Linked DNA regions of Homo sapiens: region 2 is linked to region 1. Evidence: promoter capture Hi-C in human tissues and cell types (Jung and others, 2019). All regions are on one chromosome and are shown on one strand. The core of a region is centred on a gene start or on the middle of the fragment in contact, and the rest is flanking DNA. Distances in the headings are between cores, read along the strand shown. Region 1 overlaps LRRC36 (leucine rich repeat containing 36). Region 2 holds the start of CBFB (core-binding factor subunit beta).

Region 1 (3,601 bases), core at 746-3,245:
GCAAGGAAGGTAAGCGTATATGAGAACTCTCTGTACTTTATGCCCAATTTCTCTGTAAACCTAAAACTGCTCTAAAAAATAAAGTCTATTAATTTTTTTAAAAAAGGAATGAAGTATTAATACATGCTAAAACATGAATGAATAATGAAAATACTATGCTAAGTCAAAGAAGCCAGACAGAAAAGGCTACATATTATATGATTCCAATGATATGAAATACCCAGAAGAGGCAAATCCACAGAGACAGAAAGCAGTTTACTGGTTGCCAGGAGCCAGGGGTAGTGGGAAATGAGGTGTGACTGCCTAATGGGTTGATGAAAATGTTCTGGAACTATATATAGGTAGCAATGATGCTTGCACAACATTGTAAATGTACAAAATGACCCTGAATTGTATATTTTTTAAATGGGGCTACGTGTGGTGGCTCATGCCTGTAATTTCAGCACTTTGGGAGGCGGAGGCAGGTGGATCACTTGAAGTCAGGAGTTCAAGACCAGCCTGGCCAACATGGTGAAACCCTGTCTCTACTAAAAACACAAAAATTAGCAGGGTATGGTGGGACGTGCCTGCAGTCCCACCTACTCAGGATGCTGAGGCAGGAGAATCACTTGAACCTGGGATAGAGGTTGCAGTGAGCTGAGGTCGGGCCACTGCACTGCAGCCTGGGCAATAGGGCAAGATTCTTATCTCAAAATAAATAAATAAATACTAAAACGGTGAACTTTATAGTATGTGAATTATATCTTTTTAAAATGCACCCATCTCTACAAAAAAAGAAAAAATTAGCTGGGCATGGTGGTGCACACCTGTAGTCCCAGCTACTCAGTAGGCAGAGTCAGGAGGATTGCTTGAGCCCAGGAGGTCGGGACTGCAGTGAGCCATGATCATGCCACTGCACTCCAGCTTGGGCAACAGAATAAGACCATGTTTTTTTTAAAAAAAAATAAATAAATAAAATAAATAAATAAATAAAATTTTCCTGACTTTGAGGGCAGTGTATTGGTAATTCTGTGGTATGTTATGATCTAACACCCTGAGAGTCTGTTAACATGGGACAAAAGCTAAGGACAATTATGGTTTCCATCAATGACCCACAGCATTTCTCATGCCTTTCACTGCAGTCTATTTTGAAGAGCAGACATTTTAACATTTTAAGAAGGAATGTGAATTATTAAAATGATAAACTGCCACAAAGACAAACATTCTTTAATGATTCACATGAATGCATGTCTTAAGAGGTTATGCATTTCGTTTCAGTGTTTATTTATTTATTTATTATTTTTTTTTGAGACGGAGTCTCGCTCTGTCACCCAGGCTGGAGTGCAATGGCACCATCTTGGCACACTGCAAGCTCTGCCTCCCAGGTTCACGCCATTCTCCTGTCTCAGCCTCCCAAGTAGCTAGGACTACAGGCGCCCACCACCATGCCCAGCTAATTTTTTTGTATTTTTAGTAGAGACAGGGTTTCATCATGTTAGCCAGGGTTGTCTCGATCTCCTGACCTCGTGATTCGCCCTCCTCAGCCTCCCAAAGTGCTGGGATTACAGGCGTAAGCCACCGCGCCTGGCCGTTTCAGTGTTTATAAAGAGTGAAGACAAATCAGAGAACAAATCAAACACTGCACAGCATAGATGCCAAGAATAAAAGAATGATCTTCCAATTTTAATATATGGGTTACATAACCCCAGTGGGCAAAAATTTGCTATTTGAAAATAACAAATCAAGTAGTCTCTCTAATGAAAACCATTTACAGCTCATTTGGAAATTGAATTAACAACCTTTAACAAAGCTTATTTATAATGACAATGAATGTTTCTAATAAATAAAACTTTTTCTTTTTCTTTTTTTTTTTGAGATGGAGTTTCGCTCTCTTTGCCCAGGCTGGAGTGCAATGGTGTGATCTTGGCTTACTGCAACCTCCGCCTTCAGGGTTCAAGCGATTCTCCTGCCTCAGCCTCCCAAGTAGCTGGGATTACAGGCATGTGCCACCCCGCCCAGCTAATTTTTATATTTTTAGTAGAGATGGGGTTTCAACATGCTGGCCAGGCTGGTCTCAAACTCCCAACCTCAGGTGATCCACCCCCCTCGGCTTCCCAAAGTGCTGGGATTACAGGCGTGAGCCACTACACCTGGCCATAAAACTTTTTTAAAAAGACCTCAGGAGTCAACTTGAAAGATCACCTATTAACTAAAGTTAGGATAAACTGAACATCAATTATGATAAGAACTATAATGGATTAAAACTTACATTGAAATATATTGCTATGGTTTGAACGTCCCCTCCAAAACTCATGATGAAATGTATTAATTTATTCAGAGATAGGGCCTTGCTCTGTCAACTAGGCTGGAGGGCAGTAGCACTATCATAGTGCACTGCAGCCTAAAACTCCTGGGGTCAGAGGATCCTTCCACTTCAGCCTCCTGAGTAGCTGGGACTACAGGTACACACCACCAACACCCAGTTAATTTTTAAATTTTTTGTAGAGACAGGATCTTGCTGTGTTGCCCAGGCTGGTCTCAAATACCTGGCCTCATCCTCCTCCCTGGCCTTCCAAAGTGTGTAAGCCGCCATGCCCAGCTTTCATGTTGAAACGTAATTGCCAATGTAACAGCACTGCGAGGTGGGGCCTCTAAGAGGTGATTAGGTCAACGGTGGCTTCATGCTGTTATCATGGAGTTAGTTATCACGGGAGTTAGCTATCCTAATAAAGGAATTAGTTCAGTCTTCTCTCTCTCTCTCTCTCTCTCTCTCTCTCTCTCTCTCTCTCTCTTTCTCTCTCACATCTCACACATGCACCTTCTGCCCTTCCACCATGGAATGACCCTCACCAGATGTTGGCACCATGCTCTTGGACTTCTCAGCCTCCAGAACCATGAGCCAAATCAACTTCTGTTCTTTATAAATTACCTAGTCTATGGTATTCTGTTATGACAAGAGAAAAGGGACTAAGACATTTATTTATTTATTTATTTATTTAGACTGAGTCTCAGTCTTTCGTCCAGGCTGAAGTGCAGTGGTGCGATCTCAGTTCACTGCAACCTCTGCTTCCCAGGCTCAAGTGATTCTCCTGCCTCAGCCTCCTGAGTAGCTGGGATTATAGGCACCTGCCACCATGCCGGGCTAATTTTTTTTGTATTTTTAGTACAGATGAGGTTTCACCATGTTGGACAGACTGGTCTTGAACTCCTGACCTCAGGTGATCCATCCTCCTTGGCCTCCCAAAATGCTGGGATTACAGGCGTGAACGACCATGCCCAGCCCTAAGACATATATTTAAATCGATGAGTTTATAATGATACTGAGAAAGCAAAACAGTCCTCACTGGTCACCTTTGGAGAATGCTAAGAAAATAACTCATCATTCTGAAAGCTGGCATATAAGGTGAAAACAAATCAAGCTTTTATGCTGCCTTTCCTATACAAACTGTACCTCAGGATAAGCAAACAGTTGATGTGAGGAAATTTCTCTTTATAGAAGTATTACAGTTAATGAAGAAAAATGAAAGAAATAGACAATTACCATTTTGCAATCCCTAATGAATTAACTTAGGTAATCATATTCAGTGGCTGATATCACGAAAAGAAAGAACACTAGGCACCA
Region 2 (3,601 bases), core at 493-2,992, 300 kb after region 1:
CAGACGCAGTGGCTCACGCCTGTAATCCCAGCACTCTGGGAGGTCGAGGAGGGCGGATCACTTGAGGTCAGGAGGCCAGCTTGGCCAACAAGGTGAAACCCCGTCTCTACTAAAAATGCAAAAATTAGCCGGGCGTGGTGGCAGGCACCTGTAATCCTAGCTACTCAGGAGGCTGAGGCAGGAAAATCGCTTGAACCCAGGAGGCGAAGGTTGCAGTGACCCGAGATCGAGCCACTGTACTCCAGCCTGGGCAACAGAGCAAGACTCTACCTCAAAAAAATAGTAATAATCAACCTCTTTTCTTGGTTTCTTCCTACCACTCCCTCCTCATCAGCACCTCCAACAAGGCAAACCAAAAAGATGAGAGGAACTAGGACCCTTGGATTTTTTTTTTCAACCCAAGGTCTGGTGAAGACGCACTAAATCTGCCTCCTAAAACAAGGACCTCGAGATCAACCGTGGGTTTTGCCCATCTGTGCAGTTTTTAGGAACAGCAGCCCTACTCAGGACATGGGGATAATGGTTTCTTTCTGATTCTCCTGAAGCTTAACATTCTAAGAAAATGACATTTTTAGGGCCTTTTCCCCCCCCTCCCCTCTCTATTAGAATAAATAACTGGAGGAAAGATTTCTACTCGGCGATCTGGTAGTGAGACCGCTTGACACAGAGAATTACCGACAGATCTACCTTCTAAGAAACAAACTATCGCCGACCTTGAATGAAGCTCCACTTCTTTTTCCGAATGGGGGTTTGCTTGCTACAAATACCCTGAACCCTTCTTCGGTGTCGCCGCCTAAACAATGCCCTTCGCTTGTTTAGTCTGGCTCGGGTTCGAGCTCCACTCGCGGTGCTCCGTTGGCCGACACGCGCCACCGCGGCGAGCCCCAGGAAAAGCGTCTCCCCGCGAGTACCGGCCCGCGGCATCTGGTTTCGCATTTTGAATCCCGAGTAGGAAGTGAGACGGCGCCCACTCAGTTCCGGGAGCCGCAGCAGCCGCGCCGCCGTCCGGAACCGGCCTGGGCCGCCGCGGCCCCGCGCAACAAGTGACCCGCGCGCGCCCCGGGCCAGCCGACTTACGATTTCCGAGCGGCCGTCGCGGCAGGCGTTCTGGAAGCGTGCCTGGCGTTCCTCGTGGGGCCGGTCCCTGAAGCCCGTGTACTTAATCTGCAAGGCAAGACGGCCCGAAATCAGGAGCCAAATCCGCGGCGCCGCCCGCGCGCCCGCCCTCCCAGCGCAGCGCCGATAAGGGCAAGCAGAGGCTGCGGGCGATGGCCGCCCCGGCGAGATTGCCCCTCCGCGGGCGCACCGACCGGGACTCCCGGGGACCGTGCCGCCCAAACTTTTCTCCGCCCGGGCCCACTCGGGGCGCGCTGCGGCCTCCTAGCCGCCCGCCCGCCTGCCTCACCTCACACTCGCGGCTCAGCTTCCTAAAAAACTCCTCGTTCTCGAACTTGCTTCTCTGGTCGGGCACGACGCGCGGCATCTTCCCGCCCTGAGGCCGCGCCGGCCGGCCGCGCTCGGGGCTTGCGCGGGCACCCGCTGGCTGGCTCCGCGCTGACCGACTGACCGCCCACCCGCGGCGCCCGGACGCCCGCTTCCCTTTGTTTCAGGCGCCCGCCCGCGTGGGCTCCCGTTCCGGGGAGTCTGAGGCGCCGCCGCCCGCTCGAGCCCAACCCACGCCGCCGCCGCCGCCGCCGCCGCCTCAGCCGTTGCCTGCCGCCCGCGCAGCCCCAGCGCTCACCGCCCCCGGCCGCCGCCGCCGCCGCCGCCGCCACTTCCTCTCACCGCCCACCCCGCCCCCGCCGGCCCCACCCCTCCTCCTCGCGCGCCCGCCCGCCTCCAACTCCGGCAAACAAGACGCACCATTCACAACTCCGCGGCCCACGCCGCGCATGCGCCACCCGCCCGCTGGCGGAGCGGCCTGGCTGTGGCGCCCCGGGGCTCCTTCCGCATCAGGGCCCTTTTCCCCCTGCTCGCCCGCGGCCACTCGGCGTGGAGCTGTCGTTGGGGGATCCGCCTGGCCTTTAGCAGACGGGAGTAGCCAGCGCAGGCCTTTTCTACCGCCCTTCCTCGGTCATCTGGAACTTCTGGGTTCCCCAGGTGCGCGGAGTAACCCCAGATTGTCACTTGAACGCGAGGAAACCTAAGTCCTTGGGGACTTTTCGTCCCTAAACCGACCGGCAGGGGTGTAGGCTCTGCACGTTGAAGACTGAGGTGGAAACGGACCAAAGAATCCAACCGAGTCATGGTGGAAAGGTCGTGGCTTTTGGAGTCAGATGGGTCTTAGATGGGATCCCACTCAGCTACACTACCTGCTGGCTGGGGCCTTAGATAAGAATTGGACCACTAAACCTCAGTTTCCTTATTTCCAAAATGCAGACACTCCTAGGTTTGCAGTGTTAGCGTGAGAACCTTTATGTGGGTCTAGCACACAGTGGGAGCCCAATAAATTTAAGTTTCTAAAGAAGAACAAGCTGAGTTAAGAATGTAACCGATTGCCAGTCCATATACTTACTCAATGTGCAATCAGCTGCAAAAAATAAGATCCATAAATTCTAGGGAAGTTGTTTAGCCCAAACTGGAGAAAGTCTGACATGGGATTTATGGCAGAGTTTGATTCAAAGTTAGTCCTGTGGCCGGGCACTGTAGCTCATACCCGTAATCCCAGCCCTCTTTTTTTTTTTTTTTTTTTTTTTTTTTTAAACAGAGCCTCGCTCTGTCGCCCAGGCTGGAGTGCAATGGCGCGATCTCGGCTCACTGCAACCTCCGCCTCCTGGGTTCAAGTGATTCTTCTGCCTCTGTCTCCCGAGTATTTGGAATTACAGGCACCCACCACCACGCCCAGCTAATTTTTTTGTATTTTTAGTAGAGACGGGGTTTCGCCATGTTGGTCAGGCTGGTCTCGAACTCCTGACCTCAGGTGATCTGCCCGCCTCGGCCTCCCAAAGTACTGGGATTACAGGCATGAGCCACTGCGCCTGGCCTAATCCCAGCACTTTGGGAGGCCGAGGCAGGCTGATCACCTGAGATCAGGAGCTCGAGGCCGGTCTGGTCAACATGGCAAAACCCCATCTCTACTAAAGTACAAAAATTAGCGGGGTGTGGTGGCACACGCCTGTAGTCTCAGCTACTCGGGAGGCTGAGGCAGGAGAATCGCTTGAACCTGGGAGGCGGAGGTTGTAGTGAGCCAAGACGGTGCCACTGCACTGCAGCCTGGGCCACAGAGCAAGACTCCGTCTCAAACAGCTACTCGGAAGCTGAGGCAGGAGAATTGGTTGAACCTGGGAGGCAGAGGTTGCGGTGAGCCAAGATCGTGCCATTGCACCCCAGCCTGGGGAACAAGAGCATAACTCCGTCTCGGGGGGAAAAAAAATCCATGAGGAAGCACTCTTGCTCCACAATGGGTCCAAGGAGGGCTCACAGACCTCCAAGTTGATCTTGGCCAAAGACTCTAGCAATAATTGTTTCTGCCATGGGAAATGTGGAATAAATAAAAATTGAAAGATCTCTAGAATGGCCTTGATGGCCATGAGCTTAGGCAAGGAAAAGGTCAGGGTCAAGGGAGCTAGACCTGGAGGGGTGGGAGTGCAGAGCAGGGCAG

Evidence for each region. The method cuts DNA at HindIII sites, captures the fragments that hold promoters and counts their contacts. A contact is called where the count stands out against the background at its distance.
Region 2: a contact is called between the fragment with the promoter of CBFB here and a fragment that was not itself captured in region 1, in 4 of the 25 tissues and cell types used here (dorsolateral prefrontal cortex, liver, lymphoblastoid cells and 1 more).

The regions. Positions count from the first base shown.
Region 1 is chr16:67,330,240-67,333,840 of GRCh38, reverse strand. The region is part of intron 1 of LRRC36 (leucine rich repeat containing 36); the gene reads right to left. Among named protein-coding and RNA genes, the nearest start is that of LRRC36, 5.2 kb to the right of the region's middle. The HindIII fragment of the contact is 7,189 bases long and covers 1-3,601 here.
Region 2 is chr16:67,027,290-67,030,890 of GRCh38, reverse strand. CBFB (core-binding factor subunit beta) reads right to left here and starts at 1,742. Exons shown (of 6, transcript NM_022845.3): 1 at 1,406-1,742; 2 at 1,078-1,164. The coding sequence starts at 1,483. RefSeq lists silencers at 960-1,009, 1,260-1,499, 1,590-1,779 and an enhancer at 2,340-2,479. The HindIII fragment of the contact is 10,821 bases long and covers 136-3,601 here.